Linked DNA regions of Homo sapiens: all the other regions are linked to region 1. The links are contacts of gene promoters, found by promoter capture Hi-C in blood cells and fetal thymus (Javierre and others, 2016). All regions are on one chromosome and are shown on one strand. The core of a region is centred on a gene start or on the middle of the fragment in contact, and the rest is flanking DNA. Distances in the headings are between cores, read along the strand shown.

What was found. Contacts are between HindIII fragments. The CHiCAGO score rates a contact against its expected background, and 5 or more counts as called.
Region 2: a contact is called between a fragment that was not itself captured here and the fragment with the promoter of ETV5-AS1 in region 1, in 1 of 17 cell types (naive CD4 T cells). The highest score is 5.0, in naive CD4 T cells.
Region 3: a contact is called between a fragment that was not itself captured here and the fragment with the promoter of ETV5-AS1 in region 1, in 2 of 17 cell types (neutrophils and megakaryocytes). The highest score is 5.7, in neutrophils.
Region 4: a fragment that was not itself captured here is called in contact with the fragment with the promoter of ETV5-AS1 in region 1 in 2 of 17 cell types (naive CD4 T cells and naive B cells); the score reaches 5.7 in naive CD4 T cells.
Region 5: a contact is called between the fragment with the promoter of DGKG here and the fragment with the promoter of ETV5-AS1 in region 1, in 9 of 17 cell types (activated CD4 T cells, total B cells, naive B cells and 6 more). The highest score is 9.8, in activated CD4 T cells.

The regions. Positions count from the first base shown.
Region 1 is chr3:186,075,661-186,081,460 of GRCh38, forward strand. It overlaps ETV5-AS1 (ETV5 antisense RNA 1), which reads left to right and starts at 3,510. Exons shown (of 2, transcript NR_046594.1): 1 at 3,510-3,681; 2 at 4,900-5,287. It overlaps ETV5 (ETS variant transcription factor 5), which reads right to left. Exons shown (of 13, transcript NM_004454.3): 6 at 5,386-5,515; 7 at 4,157-4,444. LOC124909470 (a long non-coding RNA gene) reads right to left here and starts at 4,149. Exons shown (of 2, transcript XR_007096205.1): 1 at 3,372-4,149; 2 at 1,162-2,554. RefSeq lists a silencer at 1,907-2,102. The HindIII fragment of the contact is 3,249 bases long and covers 1,697-4,945 here.
Region 2 is chr3:186,527,092-186,532,891 of GRCh38, forward strand. No RefSeq gene overlaps it. Among named protein-coding and RNA genes, the nearest start is that of CRYGS, 14 kb to the right of the region's middle. The HindIII fragment of the contact is 5,009 bases long and covers 338-5,346 here.
Region 3 is chr3:186,508,236-186,514,035 of GRCh38, forward strand. No RefSeq gene overlaps it. Among named protein-coding and RNA genes, the nearest start is that of LINC02052, 17 kb to the left of the region's middle. RefSeq lists enhancers at 2,702-2,791, 3,352-3,781. The HindIII fragment of the contact is 4,287 bases long and covers 806-5,092 here.
Region 4 is chr3:186,491,940-186,497,739 of GRCh38, forward strand. LINC02052 (long intergenic non-protein coding RNA 2052) reads right to left here and starts at 1,722. Exons shown (of 8, transcript NR_033844.1): 1 at 1,167-1,722; 2 at 173-351. RefSeq lists an enhancer at 3,401-3,695. The HindIII fragment of the contact is 4,380 bases long and covers 575-4,954 here.
Region 5 is chr3:186,359,114-186,364,913 of GRCh38, forward strand. It overlaps DGKG (diacylglycerol kinase gamma), which reads right to left and starts at 3,121. Exons shown (of 25, transcript NM_001346.3): 1 at 2,833-3,121. RefSeq lists an enhancer at 1,889-2,406 and a silencer at 3,191-3,280. The HindIII fragment of the contact is 2,154 bases long and covers 2,029-4,182 here.

The sequences.
Region 1 (5,800 bases), core at 2,260-4,759:
CCAGTTGACCTTTTCCTGATGACTCCAGCACTACACATTTTGTTCTGTCAATTACAGCATGCTAGCCTACCACAATACTGATGCCCTTAGGGGCTATCCAGAAGCAGAGGATTCTTCAGGTACAGGAGCATTTTCTTAAATGTTGCTGCTTCTTGGGTTTTAACCTCTTTGGTTGATGTCAAGTAAGTGAGAAAGCAGTGTATTCCAAAATTCTTAGAGATACATTTTTCTTAGTGGAGCTTCTTCAGTTGAATTGCAGGGCTTTCCTCAACTCAAGATATAATGAGATACGGTTTAATAAAAGCCAAAAATATATACGGCCAGTACTATAGGAATATTTTTCTAAGTTCCTCCACCCAGCACATGTAAACATCATAAATAACACAATGAGAAAACTCACAAGATTGGGAAGGCTGAAGGAAAAAACATTTTTTCAGCTGGTCTTTCAGGATAAGTGGCACATGTCTGAACATGTCAAATTACATGTCTTTTCCCCTCTCCTTGTGGGGAGGAAATCACTGGTATAAATCATGGCTTTCAAACACAGTATTTATCTTCTAAAAATAAATTGAGTTGTGAAGAATTACATGCTAAGACTATATAAAACATTAAGAATGTACTTTTTTCTTTCTTCATTATTTTCTTAGAGATGGGGGTCTCACTGTGTTGTCCAGGCTGGAGAGCAGTGGCACAATGAGATCATGGGAGTTTTGACCTGCTCTGTTTCTGACCCCTGGGCCAGCTCACCTCTGCTTAGACAATTTGGTGGTCCCCACTCCCAGGAGGTCACCATATTGATGCTAAACTTAGTGTGGACACCTGATAGATCGGCATAGTGTACTACAGAGCCCAGGACTCCCGAGGGCAAGTGATCCTCCCACCTCAGCCTCTCAAGTAACTGGGACTACAGGTGTGTGCCGCCATGTGTGGCAAGGGTGTACTTTTGACTAGATTACATTTTAGCTATTTACGGTATAATTTTAGCAAACTTTTATCACTATCAATAAACATATACTGAGGACAAATAAGGTACAAGGCTAAATGTGGCCTAAAGAAAGGAGTCTAAATCACAGGTTTTTATCCTCAAAGAGCTTACTCTATTCAACTGAACAGATACGGCACACCCAGCAAAACAAAAAAGACACATGTTAAGCACATGGGTTTGGATTAAATGATGTAGGAATTTATTAAGATTTTGTAGTTGAAGAGATAGATAGAACTTAAAAGTATAATAAAAAAACAGATAATGTTCAAGGTCAAAACAAATTTATCAAGGTCAATTACTCAGTTTTTATAGTAGACATTAGTGGATGTTAGCAGCCCAAATAAAATCATAACTGAAACAAATGGCGTAATTACACGTCATGGAAGTTTTTGGTTGCTGAATGTAGGACCCTGTATTTGGCTATGTGAGCTTTAGAAAGTCCTTTAACTGTGCTGAGGCTTGATTTCTAACCTATAAAATGGGTTTTTTCACTCTGCCTATGTCACAGGGCGGTTAAAAGTTTCAAATGAGACTCTCTTTACTTCTATCATGCAAAATACCATATATTTGTATTAGGGATTTCGTTTTGAAGTAATAGTCCCTCTAATCTTAATAAAAAGTTCTAAGCCAAGAGACAACCTATAGTCACCAATAAAAGTAATCTGCCCCACTTTTGGGCAGGCATAAAAGTTATTAAATATGTGATTATGAAGCTTGATATTATCCATGACTGTAATTTCTATTACTTTTACAAATATCAAACCAGGGATTTTGGTCTGTCTCATTTTCTGTGTACTATCCAGTATCTAGAAGAAAAATCACTGTCACGTTTTTGATGCGTTTTATGTCACATAGATATCACGTGGATGACCATATTAATAGACAAAGGCAGTAGGAATAGAATTTGGTAATACATGCTTTAAATAAAGGTAGGGTGGAATAAGGATGAGGGTAGAGAGAGCTGGATCACAATTTCTCAAAGTGTGACAAGACTATATCCAGGCCCCGCCCCAGGCCCACACACTCTATCTCTGAATGTTAACAAGGACTCTGCATTGAAAATCCCCGCTCCACACTCCCATGGGGACTCCTGTGCACTTTCAACTTTGAGAGGACAGCACTCTTGAGTGGAAATCCAAGTGCCCAGTGTTGTTTGTAATCGATTTGGTCACCTACAGAATTCCTCCCCCTTCACCTCAATTACCTCAAGGATCTCTGTATCACCCCAGTGTGTGTGTGAGAGCTTTGAATTTTAGACCCATCAGTCTCAAAGGCAGAGTATAACAAGAAGTAAGTCCAAAATGCACAGGCAGACTTCAAGGAGGAATCACCCAAGAAAAGAAATACCTGCATTCTGGTTCCCTCCTCTCTTCCTTTCAACACCCACGGGCAAATAACTCATCAATCCCAGGAATCCAAAACTCCTTCCTTCTCAGGGGGCTGGGTGGACTGGAGACAGGCTTATTTCACAGCTGAGACTGGGGCTACCCATCTCCCAATTCTCCAGGAGAACTAGGATATTTGTCTCCCAACTCAGTTAACTGTTAATACAGTATGTTACATAAGCCCCTTGGATAAAAAACAAGGATTGAGGGGGAAATATTAGATAAAGGAATTTTCTTTTACAGTTCATGGTATAACAAATAGAAGTTTGCTAAGAGTTTCAAATACTGAATATATACTCGACCCCACACTTCCTCCCCAATTTCCCCATAACCCTTGCAGAAAATCAGCAAGATGCTGTTTAAAAACACCAAAAAACCATTGAAATAAAAATGATATCTAGGCCAGAGTTCACAAATTGGCAGGCCTGCAGGGTGATTTTGCCCAGAGAAGTTTTGTTTAGTCTGCAGAGGTGTTGTTTTTAATTTGAATTAGTTGCCAACTTAAAAAAAAAAGTCTACAATTTTTACATAAAAAACCAAGTAACCAAATTCTTCTGCACAAGTACAGGTTGTTAGTACAAGGTAACAATTGCCAAAAGCTCAGCGGCAGCTGTGTCCTCCAGATGAGTCCCCGGTGGCAATAGAGGCCCACTCCAGAGCCAGCCCCCCACAACCCCGTCAGTGCTCACCCCTTGAGCCCTGTGTAACACAGGCGTTCGTGTTCCTTGGCCTAACCAAGGAATAAACAGCAACCAGCCATATTTTGCCGTTCTTAATGGTGACTTTCAGAGCAAAACGGGAAGGGGATCAGAACCAGACAAAGGGACCTTATTTTTTCCCCTGCATTTCATCTAGAAATAAAATGACCTCCAAGTAAATACTGGTAGGCATCTGGAATGGACCAGGCCTGGGAAAGGTATACTCATATATTCTTCCCACTCCCGCCCCATTGTGGCCCCCACACCGATCCACCTAACACAAGATAGATAGATATGAAATACCATGGCCACCATCTTGCATCCTTTGGTAATATTGTTGACAACTACCCCCCTATCCCAGAGAAACTTGAAATAAAGACAGGCCCCCAGCACATCTTCTATAAAAGAAGGCCACAAGCATCCGAGATTCTAGAATACCACAGATAAAGAGGTCAGGTTTGGAGTGTGCAGAGAAGGTTCCCTTCACACACTTTTTTGACAAATGAATGACTCTGGACAAGTTACTCCTGATGCCTCAATGCCTGTAGAAATGTAAAAACCACCTGCAGTGTAACCAGGAGATTTCTATTTCAAAAGCAGATGTACAAATAAGGTCCTTAGCTAATCTCCTACTGTTAAAACATGTTAAAATCAGATAAGTAATATTACCTTGTATAAATCAGCAATTGTCCCTTATATGTAAGTGAAATGGTAATAACTGAAGTTCAATTCTATTAATAGTAGGCAGCATCCAATGAGGAGTCAGGAACCTGCCCTCAGTGAGGGACAAGACTATCCTGGCAAGTCATTCTTCCTCTAGTTCTGTGAGACGGGAGAATACCAGTTACCTCTCCCTTACCTACTTTATAAGGATGTCGTAGTCCATCAACCATCTGGAGTACCTTGGGAACAGGGTGGTATATAAACAGTCATATTCGTATTATCATTAGTCTTGCCTCACAAGCTGCCTCAATGTAATGATAACTTTTTAGGAACCTGGTAAATAAGACAAACTGCTTCCCCTCTCCCAGTGAGAAAGGATAGGAGTGAGGGAGACAATTAAGGAAGAAGCCCAGATCAACACCCACCTCTGTTCTGATGGATACTGGTTTTCAGGCATCATCTTTGGCATCTGCAGGGGCTGATGTGGTGGTCGGGGGACCGCAAATGTTTGCTGCTGTGGTCCAGGCTCTGGAAGCGAATGGGGGGCGGGGGCGGGGCCCACACCTTGAACTGGGCCAGCTGCAGGGGCATGCCCTGAGGTGGGCAGAGTTGCCTGAGGTGGGGGAAATAGGGGATTCTGATGGGTGGGTGAGAGGGGGGTTGTAGGAGGGGTTAATGGCTTGAACCCAGAGGGAGGCTTCCTATCATAGGCACTGTAAACAGAAAAAGAGAAGGAACCATTAAGCTGAAATGAAGCCATTAGCATGGTTACCAGGTCCAGCAGAAAGCTAGTTTGCAGCCCATTGTTGCCAGGAAATAACAGCATTAACATAGTTAAATCGCTCGTAGCCCCGAGGGGATATTTGTACCTCTGAAAAGTGACAAACACACTGCGTCACAGGGACTTGTTTAACACTTCTAGTGATTTTTCTCAAGGATAATTTTAGCCTCTGCTTCCGGTTTCCTTTTTCCCTCCTTCTAAAAGAATTCTCCGTGTATGCCTGTGTAGGGTGGGTGGGTGAGGGGAGAATGTATGTTTGCCAGGTGTTCTCTGGTCCCCTCTCCCAACTATTTCCAGGGTTCCCAGGAATTAGTCAGAATATGTGTTGAAGGTCTGTTTGTGCTGTGACATCATTTGAATTAACAACTCTTCTCCTCCCCCTTTCAGGCAAATCTATGTTTATCTTCTAGAGCAAAGAATGATTTAAAATTAAAGCTTCATTCCTGGGGCCTGGATATTCTTAAGTAAAGGGCACAAGCTTCAAGACTTTTTCATATATTCTGATTTGGAGATTACTTCTCTGGTGCTTAAAGTTCACATTAACATATGATAGACATGAAGAAGTATATATTACCTGCCTCAAAGCCACAGATCAAGTATCCCAGGATTGAGACTCTTTCCCTAGAAGGACTGGGTACCCTATGAACTTAGTGCTCTGTAGAGCCACAAGGTTTTTAATGGTTTTCTTTTGTGTGCAGTACAATGATCCCAAGGGGACTGGACTACACCCGGAGGATGACACTGCCATGAAAGAAGGATATGTTTTACCACAGGGTCTGCTGGGTAAGTAACACTGGGAAGGAACATTCAGCTTGATGGCTACTTCCAGAGCCTTTCTGGGCAGCCTTTCTTCGACTCCTCTTGCCCACTCACCAATAGTTGTAGAGGCACTTTTCTCCATAGTTAGCACCAAGAGCCTGCTCATGGCTACAAGACGACAGCTCAGAGGAGGGGCTGTGCAGCTCCCGTTTGATCTTGGTTGGAGGTGGGGCATGAAGCACCACTGAAATCAGAAGAGGGATGAGAGGGGAATAGAGAGAGAACAGCTGATTAACAGGGAGCACAATGCTTCCTTCTGCAAACCTTCTAACTAGCTGATTGTTCTTGGAACTCATGTCAAGTCACATGTCAGAAAAAGCAAAACGCTTAAACACACAACCTCCCATCCAAAGCCAATTAAATTCTTCAAAGTCAGAAAAAGTATCATCATCTGATACTTTTAATTAGCCAAGTCTTTTTTCCCAAATTTCTTTGGTCATGGGTCTTGCTTTCCAGAAGCTGCAAAATC
Region 2 (5,800 bases), core at 1,592-4,091, 450 kb after region 1:
CTGACAAGGGATTAATAACCAGAATATATAAGGAACTCAACTCAATAGGAAAAAAAAAATCTAATAATCTGAATTTAAAGTGGGCAAATGATCTGAGTTCACATTTCAAAAGGCTCACCTAGCCTTGAGTCCAGAAACCAGCTTCGGTCAGCACAGTGAAGATGGGTGGGTGCATCCAAGTTTGTAACTTACAAAGAGGAATAACTATCATAGGAAATGAACCCTTATGACTAATAGCAGTCACATTACTTGAAAGCCAAGTCAGAATCAGAGGTTTGCCTGAGAAACATGGAGCAGGATGAGGGATATTAGAGGACTCAAGTGTCTGACAGCTAGAAGCTTGAGTCCATCAGCAGTAGGTGAGTGTCCTGCTTGCTCCTGCCCAAGGGACAGCGACATCTAAAGGCACTAGCCAAGGCTTCCTCTTTCAGGAACAACACCTGGACATACCCACCTACTCATCCAACCTTGGTCCCCAGGACTCAACTTTTCTTATATTCTGTGGCTGGCCATGCCCCTTCTGTTTTTTGACTTGTTTCTGCATATAAGACATTTTTTGCTTCCAATCAGGATACAGTAAAACTGGAAGGATGGGGAGCCTATCTGTCTTATTAAGATGACTTTGAGGATCTCTGCTATATCCTTGATAAGGATACTTGATAACTTTAGGTCTTCAAGAGGACTCTTGTTTCTTTAAATTCCTAATGTATCAGTACTGGCAACAGTACACAAATAACCTGACACATAGTAAGTGCATGATAAATGCCCATTTAACAACAAACATTTACCCCGGTGATATGTGGGCAAAAGACACAGTCCTTGACCTCAAGGAGCTCACAATCTAAAGGAGATGAGAAACAACTACTCTGGATACTATGGACTGAGAAGCGGTGAAGCTGGAGTGTCACAGGAGCACTGAAGAGAGGTATGTTGTCAGAGAAGCCCCTGAGGGGACATCTAAGCTGTTAAAAATGATAAGGAGAAGACTCACAGAAAAAAAAAAAATGTAGGGAGGGTTATTCCCAGTGGAAAACAGCATGACACCCTTGGAAAATTATGTGATTCACTGCAAGTATATTCGATCGGAGGTGGGAGTCAGGGTACTGGGGGAGTGGAGAGCTATGAACCTTTGTGCCAGGTGGAATTAAGGGGCCCCTCTGCAGGCCTTAGGCTTTCCCAAGCCCCTTCCTCCAGCGGCGCTGCAGCCCCTTGCATTAGTCTGTTTTCATGCTGCTGATAATGACATACCCTAGACTGGGCAATTTACAAAAGAAAGAGGTTTAACTGGAATTACAGTTCCATGTGGCTGGGGAAGCCTCACAATCATGGCAGAAGGCAAGGAGGAGCAAGTCATGCCTTACATGGATGGCACCAAGCAAAGAAAGAGAGCTTGTGCAGGAAAACTCTCCCTTATAATAACCATCAGATCTCACAAGACTTACTATCACGAGAACAGCCTGGGAAAGACCCACCCCCATGATTCAATTAACCTCCCACCGGGTCCCTCCCACAACACATGGGAATTCAAGATGAGATTTGGGTGGGGACACAGCCAAACCATATCACCCCTCATGCCTGCTGGATGCCTCTGTGTACTGTGTCATGAAGTACATATGTCATGGTCCAGGAAGTTGGGATTTTGTTTGGCAAACACTTGGAACCCAGAGGATTAGAAGGGTTTAAATTAAGGATTTGACACACTCATGACTGTGTTGTAGAAAGAATGCTCTGAAGGCAGTGAGGTTCTTGATTTTTGAGGAGTGACAGAGAAGGCTGTGAGACCTGTGGGAGGACACACCAAGTACGTGTGCAGAGGCACAAGGCAGAGAGGCAGAGGATGGAGGATGGCTTTGAGAAATCCACAGAGGGTGGATTGGACAGGATTTTCTAACCAGCTGGATATGAGAGAAGAGAGGATAAGGACAGGATGATGGCTGGATCTTGAAGCTAAGAGAGAATGAGTCAGGAGAGGTAGATTTGGAAGTCATATGTAGGAAGAGAGGAAAGCTAAATCCATGAGAGAGTCAAGCGTGAAGAGGACCAAGAACAAAATGTCAGGGAACCCTGATATATTCAAGACAGGAAGAAATGTGCTGCAGTGGGGAGGAAGCTGAACAAACGTCTTTCTTTTCTCTACTAAGTAGAAGGTGGAGGTATCTGTGGAGGCCAGGCCATGTGATGGGGGGGACTTGGGGAGAGTGAGGAGGAAGCAGCTGCTGCTGAGAGTGGGTGAGGAAGCTGACTGGGGACATAGAGGAGGACTGCCAAGCACGGGTTGTTTTCTCCTGCCCTGACAGCTGCTGTCAGTCAGGGGACCAGATGGAATAATGAGGTAAGATTCTCCCAGCACAGAAGCTACACCCTGGGAGCAAAGCAGGTACTTCTAGTAAAGAATTTATTCCTCTGAACCACCAGAGGGCCACTGGTGCCTGATGGAGTAATTTGGTTACAGGAGTGTAGGAAGAAACTGTGAGATGTCCTCCCCAGTTACGGCCAGGAACAGGTCCTCCCTAACATTTGCAGACCTGGAGCAAGAATACAAACGGACGCCCACATACGCGACGTCTAAACATTTAGAATCTGTAAATTAAGCTATTCCTAGTGCCAGTCTGCATTCCTAGCTTGCAACCCAGAGGCAAAAGGAGCCAAGCCCTCCCCTAGGCCACCCCTGCTAACTGTGAACCTGGGAGTAGCTCAGATCTGCTGGGACAAGATGGCGCTAAAGCCGGACGTGGATTCCAGGACTCCCAGCTGATGACCTTCTGAACCCAGGATAGAAACTAACACAATCAAGATCCCCAGGAAGCCAAGGCAAATAGGTTTCACTTGTCATTTTCTCAACTCAGGATTTCCAGGTATTTCTAAGGACCTGCCAAAACTCCATCACTGGAGCAGAGAGAGGGGAAAGAGCACAGTTATCTTGGGGAAACTAGCCTGGCTATACACCCACTTTGGGTGGTTTGAAGCAACTATAAACCATAGTAGCCTTTCTGGAAACAACTCAATGTCCTTTAACTAGTGAATGGTAAAACATAATGGAACCAGCCTGACCAACATGGAGAAACCCCATCTCTACTAAAAATACAAAATTAGCCGGGCATGGTGATGCATGCCTGTAGTCTCAGCTACTCGGGAGGCTGAGGCAGGAGAATTGCTTGAACCCAGGAGGTGGAGGTTGCGGTGAGCCAAGATCACGCCATCACATTCCAGCCTGGGCAACAAGGGCGAAACTCCGCCTCAAAAAAAAAAAAAAAAAAAAAAAAAGAAAGAAAAGAAAAGAAAAAACAATGGGATACATCCATACGTACAGTAGAATGTCTACATACAGTAGAATAATACTCTAATAAAAAAGAACAAACCACTGTGCATGCAACAACATAGATGTATCTAAAGAGCATTATTCTAAATGAAAGAAGTTAGACACAGAAGTCTACATACTGCATGATTCCATTTACATGACATTAAAGGCAAGCTATGGGGAGAGGAAACAGATCAGTGATTCCACAGCAGGAAGTGAGGGGGCAGGGACAGAGATTAACTGCAAAGGGACATAGGGAGTTTAATTGGGTGATGAAAATGTCCTATGTTTTGATTGTGTTGGTAGTTAGCCAATTGTATGCATTTGTCAAAAGTCAGCAAACCAAACACTTAAAAAGGGTGAATTTTATAGTTTGCAAATGATACCTTAATAAAGCAAACCCCTCAAATAAGTAATTAGTAAGCAATTGATCAATCAATCAGACCCTCTTTCTCTAGTTTCCCAGAGAAGAGGCTGTGATTTTCTCCTTTCACCCACCTCCCTACTTGAGCATTCAGATCCGTATCCCCTAGTCTACAGAGTGTATTCCAGCCCATTGCCCTCTCCCATAATTTCCCTTCGCCCAACTGGTTACCAAACCAGACAGAGAGAGACAGAAAGATTTAGACAGGAAAGACAGAAAGTGTTTTTTTATTGTAGATTTTGAGATATGTAGGAACCTCCCCAAGGCAGAGAAGGGCTCCTCTTCCCAGGGCCTAAGGACAGTGTGAGAATGTCACTGCCTGAGAGAATCTGCTTTGATAAATCTAGGCATAGGTCAACTTTTAACATCCTATGGATTTTTCTCTCATTTAACACACAACTATTTGATAACAGACATTCTATGAACACTGAATTTTTGTTGAAATTTTGAGTGTACATTTTAAAAACAGTCCCATGGTCATTTAAAAGTGAATATTTTCCCCTAATCTACTGGTTGTGCAAATTTGAAATTTTTCCTGATTAGATTTGCTTAAAAGGAAAGGTGCCTGAAGAGTATGCCCCGAACCTCCATTGTGCTCTGCAGATCTGCCAAATTCATCCTTCCACTATGGCAGGACCCAGACAGAAACCAGAGAAATGGAGGGCAGGAGGGCAAAAGATCAGCAAAACCATGGATAAATACATTTATTATTTTTTTAATCTAACTTTAAGTTCTGGGATACATATGCAGAACATGCAGATTTGTTACATAGGTATACATGTGCCATGGTGGTTTGCTGCACCCATCAACCTGTCATCTAGGTTTTAGGCCTCATATGCATTAGGTATTTATCCTAATGCTCTCCCTCTGCTTGCCCCCCACTCCACGACAGGCCCCAGTGTGTGATGTTCCCCTCCATGTGTTCATGTGTTCTCATTGTTCAACTCCCACTTATGAGTGAGAACAGGTGGTGTTTGGTTTTCTGTTTCTGTGTTAGTTTGCTGAGAATGATGGCTTCCGGCTGCATCCGTGTCCCTGCAAAGGACATGAACTCATTCTTTTTTATGGCTGCATAGTATTCCATGGAGTATATGTGGCACATTTTCTGGATAAATACATTTCTATTTGTCTTCCAGGTGCATACTCATAGACATTCACACTTTCCCCCAACTCTAGCACTCCACTTCCCACTTGTATTTCACTAACATTACTTGAAACCATAGGGTCCACTGAAAGCATGCCTTAAACTTGTGTGAGGAAAATGGCTTTCTTGAAATTGTCACATCACAGAGAAGACTTTTGGCATGAACCCCCATCACACCAACAGGCTGGTCTTAAATATGGGGGTCTAGAAAGTCTGTAATCCACCTGAAAGTCACAGAGCCTTTTCTGTGATTCAATTTATTCATGAGTAAGATGGGAATAATGATAATTATCTCCTGTTTCTCACATAATCATGGTGAGGGTCAAATGAGGTATCGTATGTCAAAGAGCCTTACAAACTCTGAAATAGTATGTGCAAATATGAGCTGCTGCTAAGTGGCTGCAAGACACAGTGAGTGTGGCAGGTAAATGTGACTCCCTCACAACTGCTAGCACCTCTGGCCTTTAGGGAGGCCCCAAAAGCTTATGAGTGGTTCTAATTTATAACTAACTTGCAGGTAACCCTCTTCCCCCTTCTTTCATCCTTTCCTCTCCCCCTGCTCACAGAAACAGTCTAAAGATTCATCTTTCTGTCCTGAGTGCTGGATCCTGGAGTACTAGCCTAGCCAGGGTCACCAGGTTCACTGTGAGCTCAAGCAAACCATCCAGTGTGTACCCAGAAATTGTGGAGGTCAGCACTACAGCCAGGCCCCACCATTGTTCTGGCCCCACGGTTCAATGGACAGGCTAATGTGGCCTGTTCAGGGGGGTGGGGGCATGAACAATAGGAATAAATCTCTGCCTGCTGTGTCCCAGAAGGCAAAGTGCTGGCAGTATTTCCCCTGAAAGCTAATCAATTCCAGAACCACTCAACCAGGGTCCTGAGACTCACAAAGGGGCACACTGGTGCTGGGGAAACAGGACCAAAGTGAAAG
Region 3 (5,800 bases), core at 1,699-4,198, 430 kb after region 1:
GCTCAGAGAACAAAGCAAGAGCTTTGGTGGTAGACAGCTCTGGTCACATCGTGCAGCTACCACTGGCACACTGGGCAAACCACAAGATCTCTAGGTCTCAGTTTTCATATCCATAAATAAGGCTGATATGTCTCACTCCACAGCACAGCCACAAGGATGAAATAATTATGTATACAGATGTGTTATATTATTTGCACTTGTTTTGTATTTTTAAAACCCCCAAATACAATAATAAAAGGCAATTATAGAATGATCACCTATGTTTGGTCCCTGGCACCTAAAGGGGTAGCATGTGTATGATGATCATTCTCTGCCCTTCGCCCTGAATGCCCTGCAGTTCCCCGGACACCGGAGCTGGTCCTAGGCTGCCTTCTGGTGGGACTTTTTGTCCTTTCACAGTGGCTGCCCTCTCCTTCCAGGCCGCTTTGTGTGACTCACCGTTCTTTGCAATTAACTGTGATGTTCTGCTGGAGGCTTCCATTAGAAACGACGAGAACAGCTACTTTGGCCTAAACAGAGTGTGGTGGGCTTGATTGTTTCACCTCACGATTTATTGCTAAAGAGACAGAAGATGGGCCCCTGGGCAGGTCATGGCTGGCCTGAGTCCTTCCCGCTGCACAAGTTTGTCCTGTGATCTGGGTCCCCATGGCATATTCAGTCCTGAGGGCCAGGCCTGCACACTCACACAGGCTCAGTGGCACCTGGCTAGACAGCAGGAGCCAGGAAGCGAGGCTGGTTCGAGGAGGTTGGCAAGGAGAGAAATATGGTTTCTTCTCTGGGAGTTTGAATCCCATTTAATTCAGGAAGCTTTAATTGAACACCTACTCTGTGCCAGGCACACTGGGGGATCAGATGTGAATTAAAGCAATCCTCACTCCCTAGAAACTTAGAATTTAACAGAGATGAAGGCAAATCTATGACCAGTCCTGAGCCTCTAGTATGCCACTGAGCAATTATCATAGAAATATAGAGAAGGATGAGATTTTGCAACCAGAGGGGGCCCTAGAAAGGCTTCACACAGCTGCCATTTGTTGAGTACCTACTATGTGTAGGATACTCCCCTTGTTTAATCTATACAACTCTGTGAGGAATGGGATTATTGTCACCCCTATGTTGCAAATGAAGAAACTGAGGTTCTGAAAGGTTAAATAACTTGCTCAGAAGTCACATAGCCAGTAAGAGGTACAACCAGGACAAGATTCTGAGTCTGAAACATGTGCTTTTTCAAGAAGGCCAGGCTACCTACTTCTTAGAGGAGGCTGAATTTGTCCTGGGCCTGAAATAAGGCTGATATTTTGTCACACAGCTCTGAGTGGGGAGGGCCTTCCTTCTGCTTCTGCTTCTAGGCAGGTACAAACCGCCTGTTCTGAGACACAGCTAATGTCCTTTCATCTTCTTCCCACAGGGGACCAATAAAGCCTGAGAGTAGGCTTGGGAGGGGCCACATTCCTCCCAGGAGGGGCTAGTTCCTCTCTCCAGCCTCTGTCTGTGATTCAGCCCTAAATACATAACCTAAATACGTAACTGTCAATTCAAATAATACCTGCCCACTGGAACCAACAACCTGGATTCATTTCACACCTGCTGGGAGCCATTAGTGGCACAAACACATTCTTTACATCACCCAAGGCAAGTTTGTTCGCAGTCATAGCAGTTTAGACTACAGCGCTGGAAGGCAATGGAGTGCTTAGAGACAACCAGGTTCGAGTACCTCTTCTCACAGATCCACACTGAGGTACAGAGAAGGGAAGGGGCTGGCCTGAAGGCTTCGAGGAGAGACATAAGAAAGGACACCATCTTCTCCGTGCTCCACACCTGTTGGGAGGAGCAGGATGAAGATTCACTGAGCACTATTTCTGAGTCTGCAGGTATTTGCCCTTAGTGTTGTGCTATCTCATTCATCCTCATCATAGCTCTGATTCGAGGTCCCTGCACACCCTTTCCAGATGGGAAGCCTGATAAGCTGAGGGGTCCTGGGAGGTGTCCCAGGTCACATGAGAAGAAGCACAGCCAAGGTGGGAGCACACACCTGCTGGCTCCAAAATCCCACCATGGAATGAAAGGAGGCAGTTGTTCCCCTCTCTCTTTGAACTTGCAAAATGGGGTTGGGTTGAGTTTGGACCCAGGGGGTCTATGACACAGTTTCTCCAGCTCGGAGGGGCCCAGCCCTGGCCTTTCCCATGGTGTGTCTTCTGAGCTGCGTGAAATAATGTCCAGCCCTGGGCAGGCATGAAGTGACATGCAGAGGCTGTGGAAAGTGTATCTACATTTCGTGCTTTGTTCCTAAATGACTCATGCAGCCCACAGAACAAAATTAATGTCTTGTCCAGCACCAGCAAATTGCATTTCTTTCTTTGAAAAATCAGTCAGGCTGCAAAGGGCCCTGGTTTATTCTGGGGACATGGAGCCATCCTGTGGCTGCTTCCACTGGACAGGCTGGAAACAGCAATCAGGCCCCTCGGAAGGGCCCCTTCCAGAGGTGGTCTAAGCCTTGTGCTCTGCTCCGGCCAGACCCTCTGCTCCTGCCAGTGACAGGTTGTTACACCCTTGTCTCCTCTGAACCGATGTTCCACATATGATCAAGTGCTTTCCAAGCCCCCGTACCACTCCCCTCACACGGCCCCTCTCCCCTGCAGGTGGCAGACTTACTCATTCTCATGCTTCAGCTCCAGGGGTTCCCCTGTATGAGTCTTCTCTGCCCGCTCCCACACCCCAGGTAGCATTGCCCCTGCTTGCTTTGTGCCCTCACTGTCTCCACATATATACACATCTCTTACAATAATATTAAATACCAGCCAACATTTATATAGTACTTCTTATGTACCAAGTACTGTTGTCTATCTATCTATCATCTATCTATCTATCTATGTACACACACACTCATATTATCTTCACAATGCTATGAAATAGGTATTATTGCTGTCCATTTTACAGATGGGGAAACCAATCTATAATTGGTTTAGTGAGATTTACTGAGCATATCTACAGGTATTTGTCCTTGGTTATAGGAAACCAATCTGTCACTGGTTTCCCCTTCTGTAAAATAAGTTAAATAATTTGCTTAAGCTCACTCAGATAGTGTGTGGTTGAGTCATAATCTGAGCTACTCTCTGGCCCAAACTGCTTATTGTAACCACCACATCATATGGCCACTTCAGCACCAGTCACACCTCATTTTACTTGTTGATGTCTCAGTTTTCCCCTCTATTCTGCGGGCTACTTGAGAAGACTTCTGTCTTCTTCCTCTAGGTATCTCTGTGCTTGACTCAGTATCGAGACCATAGGTGTGTGGGTGGGGTTAATCCACACTTGCTGAACACATGTGTCCGTGCCCAATGTCCCTGTGCATAGTGGCTACTTCCCATGGTTCACACGCATCTTCATGGCTCTTGTTTCTTCCATTCACCCATCCCATGTCCCTGGCCCTGTTCTCAGTGCTGAGGATGGAACCTCATTGCTGCTGCTTCCAGCCCTGGCCCTGCCCCTGTTTGGGGCTCAGTGCTTCATCCCGTGGAGCTCAAGGGGTGCTGTGGGTACTGACAAACTTGTACCCCATTCCTAGTTCAAATTTTTCTTTGCCTTTCAAAGGCACTTGGTGTGTGTTCATACATTCAACTAATAATGTTTGGATATCCACCACACATCAGGCACTGTTCTAGGTGCTGAAAACACAGTGCGGGGACAAGAACAAGGTCCCACCATCGTGGTGTCACATTCTGCTTGGGGAGACAGACAGTAAGCCATCAGCAGCTGAGTAGTAATACAGTGCCACGTGGTGGTCAGCACCGTGAAGAAGAAAGCCAGATAATGGCAGAGAGTAAGGGGGTGGTCAGGGAGGGTTGTCTCTGAGGATGTGATATTTCAGCAGAGACCAGATGAAGAGAGGGAGAGAGGGAGGCTGATATCTGGGGGAAGAGTGTTCCCTGGCAGAGGGAACAGCAAGAGCCAAGGCTCTACAGTGGCTCATATGGGGAGAGATTGAGAAAGCGTGAAGCCCACTAATGCAGGCGCAGAGTGAGACAGGACAATACAGTAGCAGAGCCTGGAAGTCCTCAGGGGGCATGGAGAGCCTTTGCAATTTTATTCCCAATGTGTTAGAAACATCTCAGAGGGGCTTGTGCAAGGGGCCGGCACAATCTGTGCCATGTTTTAAAAACTTGAAAGCATGAGTTTATGTATGTGCTGTCCCCCTCAGTTACGAGATCAATAGTGGCGTTTTTAGTGATGTTTTCTTAGGAGTTCTTTCTGTTGCCACTGCTATTTCTCAACACCCCCCTCTCTCCAAAGCCCACATTGTTTCTCTCATGGACTCAACTGGCTTCAACTAGAACTTACAGTCTAATAAGAGACACAACCAAGTAAACATTGGACTGCTGGTGATATGAACTGTGATAGGGCGGCTTTGGGGACTGTGGAAGCACAGAAAAGGAGCTGCTCAGACACAGAAAGCCAGGGATGGCTTCTGGAGGCCAGGGCATCTGACATGAGTCCTGAAGGGTGAGGTCAGCCGCATGAGAATGCTCTAGGCAGGGGAAACCACGCATGTGAACTGAGAAACCGTGACGCTGCTGTCACAGTGGCCTTGCCTGGGTCCTTAGTTCCCTCACCCCCATATCCTTCAGTCCCCACCTAGGCAACTCCAGTGCTAGCCAGGCTGGGTAAATCCTCTTCCACTGCTGAACACTGCTGTAGAAATTTGCCATCCCTGGTTCCAACACAAACTCACACTCTAATCCCAGCTGGATCTTTGGCCATTCGGTACTCCTTCTTTCCATGATAATTAACTGCCTGCCACATTCCCAGCAGCACGTATTCCAGGCTTCTATTTTCTTCCCACCTACCCCACTCACTGAGGGTGACCTGACCTCCTATTATGATGTGCCTCCCACTCCTCCTCCCACTGTGATCTCCACCTCAAAGAATGTTTGTCTTCAACCCCATCTCCTTCAAACGATCTCAGAAAGAGATACGATTATTCTTTTTGAGATTAACCCCTTGGAAAAAAAATTGAGCATTTATTTTGCCTTGCCTGGATTGTATTGCAGGGTAAGCAAAAAGCCCAGGTTGATAAGGGAAAGTTCTTTTTCATAAAAGCTTAAAAATTTGAATAGAGTGCAGAAGTAGAAAGTCATCTTTTTGCAATCCCATTTGGTTTAGGCAAAAATCATAAGCAGATGAAACAATCAGACGGTTTATTAATGGGGGACTTTCCATGGAGAGATAAAGCTGCCACAAGCTGATCCTGCTGCTCAGTTTTATCACGATCGCTAACAATGGCATCAACAATGCTATGGGTTTGCCGATGAGATGAAATATACAATGGGTGGCACTTTGCCTGCACATTGGAATTGTCTGGGGAGCTTTAACTACTGATGTCTGGGATCCATTTCCACTGATTATGATTTTAAATGCCTGGGATGTAGCCTGGGCATAGAGATGGTTAAAAACTGCCTCCAGCTGATTCCAATGAGATGCCAAGGTTGAGACCACTGCCAAATGAAGTACAAGGCTTCAGTGTGAACTGTGCTAGCTCCCGCAAGAGTTGAGTCTCATCAAGCCTTTCAAGTTCATCTGTAGCTGAAAATATTTTGGGGCATAGGGAAACAAGTTAAGGGACAATGTGAGGAAGACAAATCCAGAGTGTAGCTCGTTCTGTCCAGCAATGGACTCACTGTATTTTTTCAATAATCCAATACCTTTAAAAAGGGGAGGAGGGACAGTTACAAATTAAGAGATTCAAAGATATAAGAACCAAATGCAGGATTTTGGATCTCGAATGGAACCAATCATTTTTATACAA
Region 4 (5,800 bases), core at 1,515-4,014, 420 kb after region 1:
GCTCCTGTGGGAAGATGAACTTTTAAGTTATTTCCTACACTTTTATACACTGTTCAAATTGTTCCAAAGAGCAAGTGTTAATTATATAAACTGAAACAGCAATAAAGCTGTTTACACAGTGAGGAGGAAAAAAAAAAACAACTTATCAAGGATCCCTTATCCATGCACCCACCTGGTGATTTCTTTAAAACAAAATTGTAACCAGCCATGTCCTGGAGCAGACACGGTCCTTTATTTTACTATGTGATAAAGGAGGTAGTGCTTCTTTTGTAAATTCGAGCTCTTGCTCTGAGGAGGGATCCTTGACATTCTGAGAACTGTTAAATACGTATACATGCCTCGTTTCTAAACCTGAAATCATTTAACAGATTTGGTTATTGTCTGCTCCATTAATTGTGCTATTCTCCCATTGCAGACCAGTAAGCCAGGGCTGAGGGGATCTAAAGCTCCTCCCAGCATCACACAACTGAGAGCTCTCCCAGACACATCCCCTGGGAGCTAGTAGATAGACTGGAATAAAAATTTTGAGCCTTCACAGTCTCCCAAGCCAATCTTTTCATCCTACTATAGTGTAAGCTTCCATGCAAAGCCACCCTCCCCTCCACTGTTCTCTGGAGCAGAGCAGGTCTACAGGGTCAGGCTGCCTGGCTAGGCCCCTCTGTGAATGCCCCTTGATTAGAGAACCACTATTATTCTCCTCCTCATAGTCCATGGAAAATAAATACAGGAAAGTCAGCAAACTTTCAAGAATGATGATGCTGGCTGTTTTCAGGTCCCAGTCATCCCTGCAGCCTGGCCGTGCCTTCTGTAAGCCTGTTTCTTCATAAGCTCTCTGCCAGCAAAACTCCTGCAATAGAAAACCATCTGGAGAAGAGCCAGGCAAAGGCCTTGATATCGGTGTTCTGGGCGCTGGGATTGATCATGCAGAGACCAGTGCAGCACCTAAACAGGGACCATTTCCTCCAGCCTGCCCACAGCTGCTGCCCTCGGGGCTTGCTCTGACACCCAATTTTTAAAAGCAGGCTCTTAGAATAATAAAACCAGAGAATCTTTGAATACAGAACCATTGACTGTTAGAATCATAAACTATTGAGAGAAGAACCATGAAATTCTAGAATCTTGGCGTTGGAAGTTACCTCCCAGGTAAATGGGTTCTGTCTCCCCACCTAAGCAACAGGTATTTCTTCTGAGGAAACTGGGTGCAGCAATGATGTGGCCACAACACCTTGTAGATGTGGGAAGATGTCCACGGTGGCCACAGTAAGAAGCCTTTTTGTGGTCTCTACCTTCTGAAATAGTACATGACGCAAGAAAATGTCCATGCTTGTCACGACAAAAACTACTATTCCCTGGAAGTCTGTGGTACTTTTGAACTCTCTTAAAACTTTACCCTCCTTGAAGAAGGTTTCAGGAGAAAGAGGAGGCCCTGGAAACTCTTGATAATGCCCTCAGCACTGCTTCCAAGGAGCGCCAGTCATATAGACCATCCCTGAGAGAAACAAGAGAAAACGGGAAATTCTGACTTCTCTCTACTTCAGAACTATGAGCTATTTTAGTTGGCATTTTTGCCCCCATCCAACTTTTTTTGGCTTCGCTATCTAAAACAAATAAATAAAACAGCTGATGCTGTGAACTGTAAAGAATCTGAGCTAATTTGGTCCTCCCCTTTCTCCCATCCATTGCAGACTTCGGCCATAGCGCGTGAGCATTAGAAAACAACTTGTCGCCCACTCAACTCTCTTTCTCATTCCTAAAGGAAAATATTTATATTACGCCACAGAACGGGTTTCCATGACAGTGACGACTGTAACACTGTTGCCTTAGCAACCACTTGAGTCCATCTTGAATGATCTGAATCCCCTTCACAGACAAATAAGGAAAATCTGTCAAAAGTGCCATTCCGCTGGTGGGAAGTCCTGGAAGACGGTTTTCTCGCGCCCTCGTTCTCCCTCCAGGTCCGTCCCCCCGGTCCCCCAGTACATCTCCCCTAACGCTCACTCGGGAACTTTCCATATTTGCTACTCTTTCAAGAGCTTGCCCTCGCCCTTCTCCTAGTGATTAGACCCTAATCCACCATGGAGACGCTGCCCAGAGCTCTGCAAAGGGTTAAGGACTGGCAGGCAGAGCCGTGCCAAAGACAACAAGAGACAGAATAAATACACAGATCATCCTTTTTATAGGGCCTTGCTCTTGCCCCTGGAGACTGGGTGCACGTTTTTCTCTATCAGTCCAGAGCAACTCTGAGGGGAGAGTTTTATAGGAAAGACCAGTCCTCCTTGAGGTTCAGCTCTCAGTCACAACAAGTGGGCAGGTTGCCTCTCGGGCCTCAGTTTCCTCATCTGTACGATAAAGGGGTTGAGTGGAGGGTCCTTCTGGCTCTTACACTCTAGGAATTTGGGGGAATCAAGAATGTATCATCTGGCCGGGCGCGGTGGCTCACGCCTGTAATTCCAGCCCTTTGGGAGGCCGAGGTGGATGGATCACTTGAGATCAGGAATTCCAGACTAGCCTGGCCAACATGGTGAAACCCCGACTCTACTAAAAATACAAAAATTAGCAAGGCATGGTGGTGGATGCCTGTAATCCCAGCTATGTGGGCAGCTGAGGCAGGAGGATCGCTTGAACCCGGGAGGCAGAAGTTGAGAGGTTGCAGTGAGCTGAGATTGAGCCACTGCACTCCAGCCTGGGCAACAAAGCAAGATTCTGTCTCAAAAAAAAAAAAAAAAAAGAATGTATCATCTTCTTTCTCCCAAAGTCATCAGATTTCTTGTAGCATGCCTACAGAGAACTCAGATAGGACATCAGGACAAGTGACATCCTGGAGTGACATGGAGCACGCCAGCATTCACAGGGAGGTGCATCTTCCCCCATCACACGTGTGGGCACAGGTGAAAAGCACCGTCGGCATCAGCGGCAGTGGTGCTATCAGCACCGTAAGCACACACTGCAGACCAGGCCACTCCAACTCAACATCTTTTACTGGAGAAGGTGCTCCTGCAGGCTGATTAAATCAATAAATGAGCCCTCTCAGGGAAGCAGCGACTTTTCTCCTGGAGGAAATGTTTTCAATGCAATTCATATCCATCTCTGGAGTTTTCTTTGCCTCTTTCCTTATTGAAAAACAGCTTGAAAAGCTAGAAATGCTGACCTGTTTTCTTTCATTCATCTTCCTGCTTCTTACTGACAGGGAGAAAGCTGTTTTAAGAGAGAAAAAGAGCAGTTTAAATCGTTTTTATAATTTTACTAGCCGGCAAGAAAATCACTTTGCTGGATTTGTATGGAGACTAGGAGAAATGGAACAAAACATGGGTGGAGGGCCGGGGAGAAAAGAAAAAGAAGAAGCTGGTGCCACTTTAGGAGGAAGCTGAAATACCTCTTCACCAAAGCCCTTCTTGGAAAGTGTAATATCTACAAAAGTCACTTCAGACCTTTTCAGACTTCTGACCTAACTGAGAGGCAGGATGGAGTGCAGGAGTTTAGAGTGGGCTTTGGAGTCATACGAAAGTGGGAATGCACTTTGCTCCCACATCCCGTCTTGCCTGCTGGCCACAGCTGATTAGAGTAGGCAGGAGTAGATCCCTGACCTTAAGACAAACTAAACACGGCCTGACCTGATCTGACCCAAAAGGATTGGCTGGGTCAGCTGGTTTTCTTTCCTTAGGAGCCTGAATAGGAAGTAAAGAAAGAATTCAGCCTGGCGCGGTGGCTCATGCCTGTAATCCCAGCACTTTGGGAGGCTGAGTTGGGTGGATCACTTGAGCTCAGAGGTTCAAGACCAGCCTGGGCAACATGGTGAAACCCTGTCTCTACAAAAAATACAAAAAATTAGGTGAGCATGGTGGTGTGTGCCTGTAGTCCCAGCTACTTGGGAGGCTGAGGTGGGAGTATTCCTTGAGCCTGTGAGGTCGAAGCTGCAGTGAGCCAAGAACGTGCCACTGCACTCCAGCCTGGGTGACAATGTGAGACCCTGTCTAAACAAAACAAAACGAAAATAAAGCAAAGGAATTCCCCAGTCATTGGAGGACAGGTCAGGTCAATAGTGAAAGAACTGAAAAAGCACAACACTGGTAGTCATGGAATAAGATTCATCTCATCCAGACCATATCGTGTTCTGCATTTTTGTGAATCTGTTACCAATCTTTAAACTTTGGGATATTTTGCATAAAAACCCAGCTCTTTGGCTTCTCTTAAAAAGCCAGAAGCTCTGTAACACAGAGTCAGCATGTCCTGGCTGCAATCAGCTGGAGCTAGGGCCTGCAGCTGCCCGCTTTTCCTGGGCCATATGTTCTCCCATCCACCAGCCTCCACCCTGCCTTGTTACGCTCACACTCAGCTTACCTGCCTGCCCCATGTAGGCACTGGTGCATGCCTGTGTAGGTATTGGTGTGTGCAACCCCTAAATTAGAGGGAAGGCCCCTAGCAACTGCTTCCTGGAAACTACAATTGCCTTGAATACACAGCTGGAATTACTGAGGCAAACTTTAATATAGTTTCTGGTCCCAGATTTCCCAGAGGCTCCCCTTAATCTTATATGTGGAGCCTTACAATAAATCCTCTCTACCAAGCTAGCTTGAATGGGTCTTTATCCCTTGCAATAGAACAAGCCCCATGTATACAGGGGTAATTATTAAATTACCTCCCCTTCTTTTCCCAGCTCTCTCAGAGGCTGCAGTTTTTACAAGGGGCTGCTGTCTGAGAAGTCTAGGGGAGACTGGCTGATGATTGGGAGATGCATTCCTAAGGATTAGCTGGGCACCAGGAACCAAGGTCAGGCTCACTTTGCCAGGGGAGATACAGGAATGAGAGCTGACTCAGAGGCCAACAGCTTGTGAAAAATACCAAAGTAACTCCATAGGTACCTACCTGGGATTCTTTGGAGCCAGGTGTATGCAAGGCACAGACTGGTCCTCTGGACATAGTAAGCCAAGGGTGGTGTCCAGTAGGACTTTGGGGAAGCTTACCCACATGAGCAATCAGAACCAACCTCAGCCCTAGCCTTTGGAGGCCTCCAGCTGGACTGTAGGAGGAGCCCAAGGCAGCTGGAGTTCTCCAAAGGACTTGAGGGGCTCTGGACAGAGGTTATTCATCAACTAGTATGAAAGTATATAAATGTGAGCCACTGGTATGGTCCCACCTGTGACTGCGGGGCTTTAACTCAAAGAATAATCATTCTTTAAGTAGTCATGATGGATACCGGGCCTCGTGGTCACCAGGTTGCTGTGAGTGCAGCATTGGTACCTTAATGGGTTAATGCCAGCACAGCCCTGGAAATCTTCCTTTGTTATGTGCACAGGGATCTCCAGAAGCCTGGCTTTGCAAGGATTTGGGTTCAGAGATGTGTGTGAGCTCCAGGATATTGCAGTTTCTTATCACTGACTCTCAGGTACTCTGGACATGAGCCATACATCTCAGTAGACAGTGAGGTCTTTATCTTGTCTACTAGATTCAGACTGGGGTTATTGTGTGGATCAACACATAAGCAAGATGGAGGAATAGGGTTTTCCAGTGCCCATCTACCCACAGAAACATCAATTTGAACAACTCTCCATGCGTAAAAATGCCCTCAAAGGGTTAAGGAAACCAAGTGAGAGATTATAGCAAGTGGGTTGTAGCACAGAAGTAAGAGGTGTTTAAGAGGGTAGGGAGGAGAGTTTTACATCATCCAAATTGCCCCTCCCCCCAGTCCAGGCAGCAGAGGGCAGAGAGATACCCTCTATGTCGGGGAGGGAGAGGGAAGTGAACACCTGACTTTGCCTTGGGGCCTAACACTGGGCCCTCTCAGTAAAACTCAGTACCAGGC
Region 5 (5,800 bases), core at 1,871-4,370, 280 kb after region 1:
AGGCCTTGGCCTATTTGGATTCCTAAAGGTCATCTGCTTGAACTATGGCCGAGTTGTTTCTGGTGAATGGAATCCTAAATTAGTGTACCCTTTTTGAAAAGTGGCTTCTCATATATACTGTGAGCCTTAAAACATTCATGCCCTTTGGCCTGGTGATCTATTTCTAGGCATCTATCCAAAGGAAGTAATGGGAAGTGTGTGCAGTAAAGACTTTGCCCAGAGTTATTTGTAGTTGCTAAAGACAGGAAGCAACTTAAATAACTAACAGTGTAATAATATGCAGCCAGGAAAACAATGTTCATGAAGGTCTTTTGCTACAACACTAATTCAGAAAAAAGCAGAGAACCAATAGCTACAGGGGCTCAGCAACCATACTTTTGAGTCAGACAGCCTGGGTTTGAATCTTGATTCTGCCACATACTAGCTATGTAACTTGGGCAAGTCACCTGAAGTCTTAGAACCCTAGAAAAATGCAACCCTAGAAAAATGGGATTGATAGTAATAACACCTCAGAGGGACTCCTGAGGATTAAAGGATATAATGAATATAAAATTTAACACCATGCAAAGTATACTTATTAGGCACCCAATAAATGCTGGCTCTCTATGGATTGTATAATTTCGAGGCATAAAAACAGATGGAAAGGAAATATGCCAGTATATTAACAGTGTGGGATGGGAGTGGTAGGATCATGGGTGATTGATTTGTTCTTTGCATACTTTTCAACTTCCCAATTTTTAGGCAATGAACATGAATTACTTTTATACTAAAAGAGTACATTATAATGATGTAATACAATAAGATATACATTTTAAAAGTTTTAAAGTTTTACCACAAAGAAAAGGTACTTCCCCGCCCTTTTCCCCCTTCTCTTCCAGGGGAGGAGATGGGGCCAGCATCCACCAACTCCCATCAGTAGGAGAGGGGAGAGTTGCTGGCTTCTGGGTTCTTTCCTCGCAGAGGCTCACACATGCACAGCCTGGGCCTCTGGGAGTGTCCGGGTTGGAGGGATCCTCACCATCTGTTGATGGTGTTGTGTGGGGAGTTGGAGCAGTTGGGGGAGCTGGAACAGATGATCTTAGTAGTTACTCCCATCTCTGAGAGTCTAGATTTCAAGACACGCTGATGTTTGTCGTTTTCTCCCCATGTCTCGGTTGATCTGAACCAACCACTCCATAAAATTCTAAGGTAGGAAAGACTCATCTACTAGCTTCCCACCCTAAAGCCCCTCCCAGAAAAATACCTGTAGTAATGCCTATAGTGCTGGGTGTAAACGTTAAGGGTGATTGGCAAAAAAGACATAGATCAGGAGTACGACCGGGAAGTTGGCTTAGTTGCAGCCGTTTTATTTAAGGAGTATAATTCATATTCGGAATGGAATCTCCAGCAAATGTAGTCTTTTAATATGACAAACAGTTAAGTACCTTCCCATGTTAGACACATGCCTGGAATGAGAGTGAGAGGGACATAAAATATAAAGGGGTGTGTGTCTGTGCCTGGGTTCATGACCAAACCTCGACATTTGCCCTCTATGATCTAATTTCCTTCATTGACAACCAGGGTGCCCTGTGTGCCAGCAAGTGGCTCTGCCAGCTGTATTTTACAGACAGAGAATCCCAAGCACCAAAATAACAAAGTTGATTCCCCCATCCAGACCAGAGGGGTCGTTTCCAGTCCTGTGTCCTGACCACTGTCTCTCATCATGACCCCTGGTGTTCACCTCCAGATCCAAAGTGTCGTCGCCAAGCCCCCAAAATAAAGGAATGACAAACAGCCCTCCCAGGCCCTCCTCCCCACAGAGAGGTCATCGTATGCTAATGAAGTCCGAGGAGGCAGCGGCGCAGCGCGGGAGAGCGCGCCCACGGGTTCACAGCGCTCCCGGGCACCACTGCGGCGCAGCCACAGATCGCTTCGCGCTGCAGCAGACGCTCCCGCCGCGGGGGGCGACTGGGGGAGGGGTCTCGACCGCCACCCTGAGTTCCGCAGCTCATCCCTCCCATCTGGGAGGTGGTTCTAGCTCTAGTCCCAAGCTTTCCACTGCAGTGATGGTGGGGATGGGGGCAGCACGTCAAATCACCTGTAGGGCTTTTTAGAACTCCACAGCCCCCTCCCCTAATTCTATTCCACTAGTTCAAACGAAGAAAATCTCAGACTAGGCAAGGGGAGGTGGACCGGTGGAGTCTGCGAAAGCACCACAGGTGACTCCGGGTACGCACTCCTCAGGACACAAGCACACACACGGACACATCTTGTGACTCTGAGACTACACAGATCAACCTCAGATTCGACCCTTCCCTCCTTTATTCTCTGAGGTGTCCGTGTTCGCTTCAGCTTCCCTTTAAGTCGCCCTGCGCAGGGGCTTTGTGGAGTGCCCCCAAAGTCCTAGAACCCCGCGGGACGGTCGGAGGCTTTGGCGGCCAGACATTAGGAAAAGCATCTCCTGCTTCTCGGACTGCCTGGAGCGCGAACTGGATATCAAGGAGCCAAGGTTAAGTCCAGAAGAAGAAGGAAATCCGACCAGTTGCTTTAGCAAACTGCCTGGAGCAAGGCCGCCTCCCACCCGCACAGCTTTGAGGCTTGAGGGGGCCTCTCAGTCGCAGAGAGAGCCGAGCCCCACCCTGTGCGTTCCCCAAGCCTGCACCCCTCGAGCGGGGCATCCCTTCCTGCAGGGCTTTGTGGCAGGTGGAACTGTCGGGGTGGGCGCCGTGGCTTTGGCTGCAGCCCCTTCCCTGGCCGCGGGACCGGCTCCCGCTTTGCCCTCCTTTACCAAGTTGCTGCACCGGGTGCTCCCTGAGCCGGGGACCCCCTCCGCCGCGCCGGCCGCCGTCTTACCTCACCAGGCAACACTTGGTTGCGCGGTGGCCCGGGGCGCTCCTTCTTCGCGGTTTATTCCCTTACTTGGGAGGAAAGAGGAACCGAGAGACAGAAGGGGGACCGAAGCTGGCCTCTGGGCGTCTTCCCGCCTGCGCAGCCCTCTCGGGGGAGGGGGATGCAGCCCCAGTGGGTGCCGCGGAGACCAGGCTGCCAGGCTGTGGTTGGTAGCGCCGGGGTCTTCACCCTGTGCTCGGAGTTCAGCAGCTCCAAAGCTGTCTATCTCCGTGGCCCGCTACTACGGCACTGCGGCTCTGTGCCCTGCCCCTCGCAGCCTGGCAAGTCCAGCTGCCACTCTCACTGCGGAGCCCTGCCCCCGGGCGCAGAGCCCGCCCCCGCCACACACACCGGCGCGCGCGCGTACACACACGGCACACACAGACACGCGCTTCCACACATGCACACGCGTGCGCACACACGAATGTGGATCCGCTCGATGGGAACCTGACCCCCTTTGGTGCAACTAGGGCGCGGGCATCATTAGGACGCTTTTTACTGACAGGGCTTCGGTTTGGGAGGAGGAGTTACAGGCTTAGGAGTGTGGAGAGGATGCAACAGTGGTGGGTACCAGAGGGCCCCTGACCCCGGAGGCAAAGGACAACTGTTTGACAAATAAATACCGACTGGGCGTTTCCTTTTCTCAACTCTGGTCAAGGCTACCGTAATATCCCGACCAAATCGAAGAAAAAATAAAAATACAAAATCAACAAGTTCTCTTTGTTTCCCAGGAACTCAGTATCTCTAGGATCCAAATCACTAGCCCTGTCCAGAGGGTCATTTCTGACAACCTTGACTTCGGTGGCAGTGGATTGGTGGCAGTTCAACTCGAAAAGGTTTTCCCCTCGTAGCCTGGTGGAGACTGGCACAGCCTGCCTGAGCTGGACTCTGTTGGATGGGTCGGGTCTCTGGGTGTGTTTAATTCCCATTCTCCTTTGCTTTTAGGTGACCTTGGACTGTATTCCTGCAGAATAAATAGATCTCTTCTTTTTTTAAAATGTAGAAGAGCACAGAAAAGACGCTGGGGTGAGGGGTCGGGGGGAATAGGGGAGCTACATTAGCCAAGGCACTATGACTTGTTGCTTCTCTTTCCATGACGTGCATGTCCACGTGAGGGGGTGATGGTGGTGGTGACACTATTTCAGGCATGTCACACAGCAAGATGACTGCTGTCCATTTCACACCACATTTAGAGTCATTAGGAGTTTAGACTGTCATCTTTAAAATATGTGGAGTTTACTCATTTCCACAGCCGAGAATTCTTTTCTGCCAGTGGGCAGTGAAGGTCCCCGGGCCAGCACTGCAGCCAAGAAAAGCTTTCCGCAGAGTGTGGAGGCGCCGAGGGGCTCTGGGTGTCTGTGCATTTGGGGAAGAAGCCTCAAACACGAATGTCAAACAGCCCTGAGGACCCTGTTGGGTGGTGTCCATACTAGGCTATCTGCAGGCAGGCTGGTGAGACAGATGAGAAACAGAGCTGAGAGATCTCCTTAAGATTCCACACAGTGATGAAGACAGAGCTGATACCAGAACCCCGTGTTTGCGACTCCTCTTATCCTCTGGGTCTTATCCATTCTATCACCCTGGGTGGCTTCTCAAAGTTTCCTTCAGCTAGGCTGAAATAATCTTGGTGAGGGTGCCTTCAAAGTTCTTCCTTGTCCTTTCTTTTTTTCCTCTTCAGTCACTGACTCATTCATTTTACAGCTATTTATTAAACTCCTACTCTGTCTTCAGGTGCTTCCCCGTAACTCCAGTCCTGGGCCTTACTTGGGAGGAAAGAAGAACTGAGAGACAGAAAGGGCTTAGAACTGTCCTCATCCCTGGAAGAGAGGAGCCCTGAGCACAGGTTTCTGGTATATATTTTCACTCTGCTAGGTTGCATGGATGTGGAAGACACAATCCTTGCTTTTTTTGACTGCATGCTCAATGGAGGAAAATGCACATACATGTCACAAGAAAAACATTCTGGCTGTCTATTCTTGACTCCTTCTAAAGAAGGCTAAACTGAAGGAGACCCTGTGTTTGGCTGAGCATCATAATGGACTTGGGGTACATGTTTGCAAATAGGTGTTAGGACAACATTGAGTTGCTCTGCCTATTAGGACAGGAAGGAAATAAATTGAATGGAACAAATGAAGAAGACATGCAGAGACTGAGTGTGGAGCCTTAGCTTCGTTGAGAGCACATTGGGGAAGGGTAACGAGAGGGGAGGAGCTCTGAGGACAGGGTTGCCAAGCAACTTGCCTGAGAACAGGCAACAGGGTTGCCAAGTTGTCCAGGGATTTGGACAGGGGAGATGCTTGCAAAGATTGGTAAGTAGTTTGCTGTGGGGTGGGCTATGAAAGCCCCCGGTCCTATGAAAGAAATCATTTGTAAAGTCAATATTGTTCATCGGTTTGCTTGCAAATGGATTCCTTTAGGATCAGGATGGAGCCAAATGATGCATCTGAGTTGCTGCAGAAGGAGTTCAGAGAAGGCTGTGTGGACTGAGTTACATGCTAATAACATGGAGGAAAAGGGTGGTAGTAGAGGCTGAAGCAATGTGGAAGGCAAAGAGGGATGGGGCGGGAAGAAGCACCAAGAACAATTAGTGCTAATGGAGGCATCATGGAGGAGGTAGGGTTTGCGATCGGATTTTAAAGGGGAATAGAGATCTCACTTAAAGATCAACAGGACAAGGGCAATCTAGGCTGGGAGAAAGCAAAAGCAGAGACGTAGGACAATTCATGGTGAGTTCTGGGTCTTCCCAGCACAAGAAAAGAAGGCTGGGACAGTATTGTGGGAGTCTCCAAATGCTCTTCTGGGAGCATAGACTTGGGTTCCACAGTGAGGAGCTATGGCAGGTGTGGATTTTTTGTTGTTTGTTTTTGATGGGAAATGAGCTGGGAAGCAAGCTGGGAAGTATCTGATGCCAGCTTTCCCAAGGTAGGCCTTC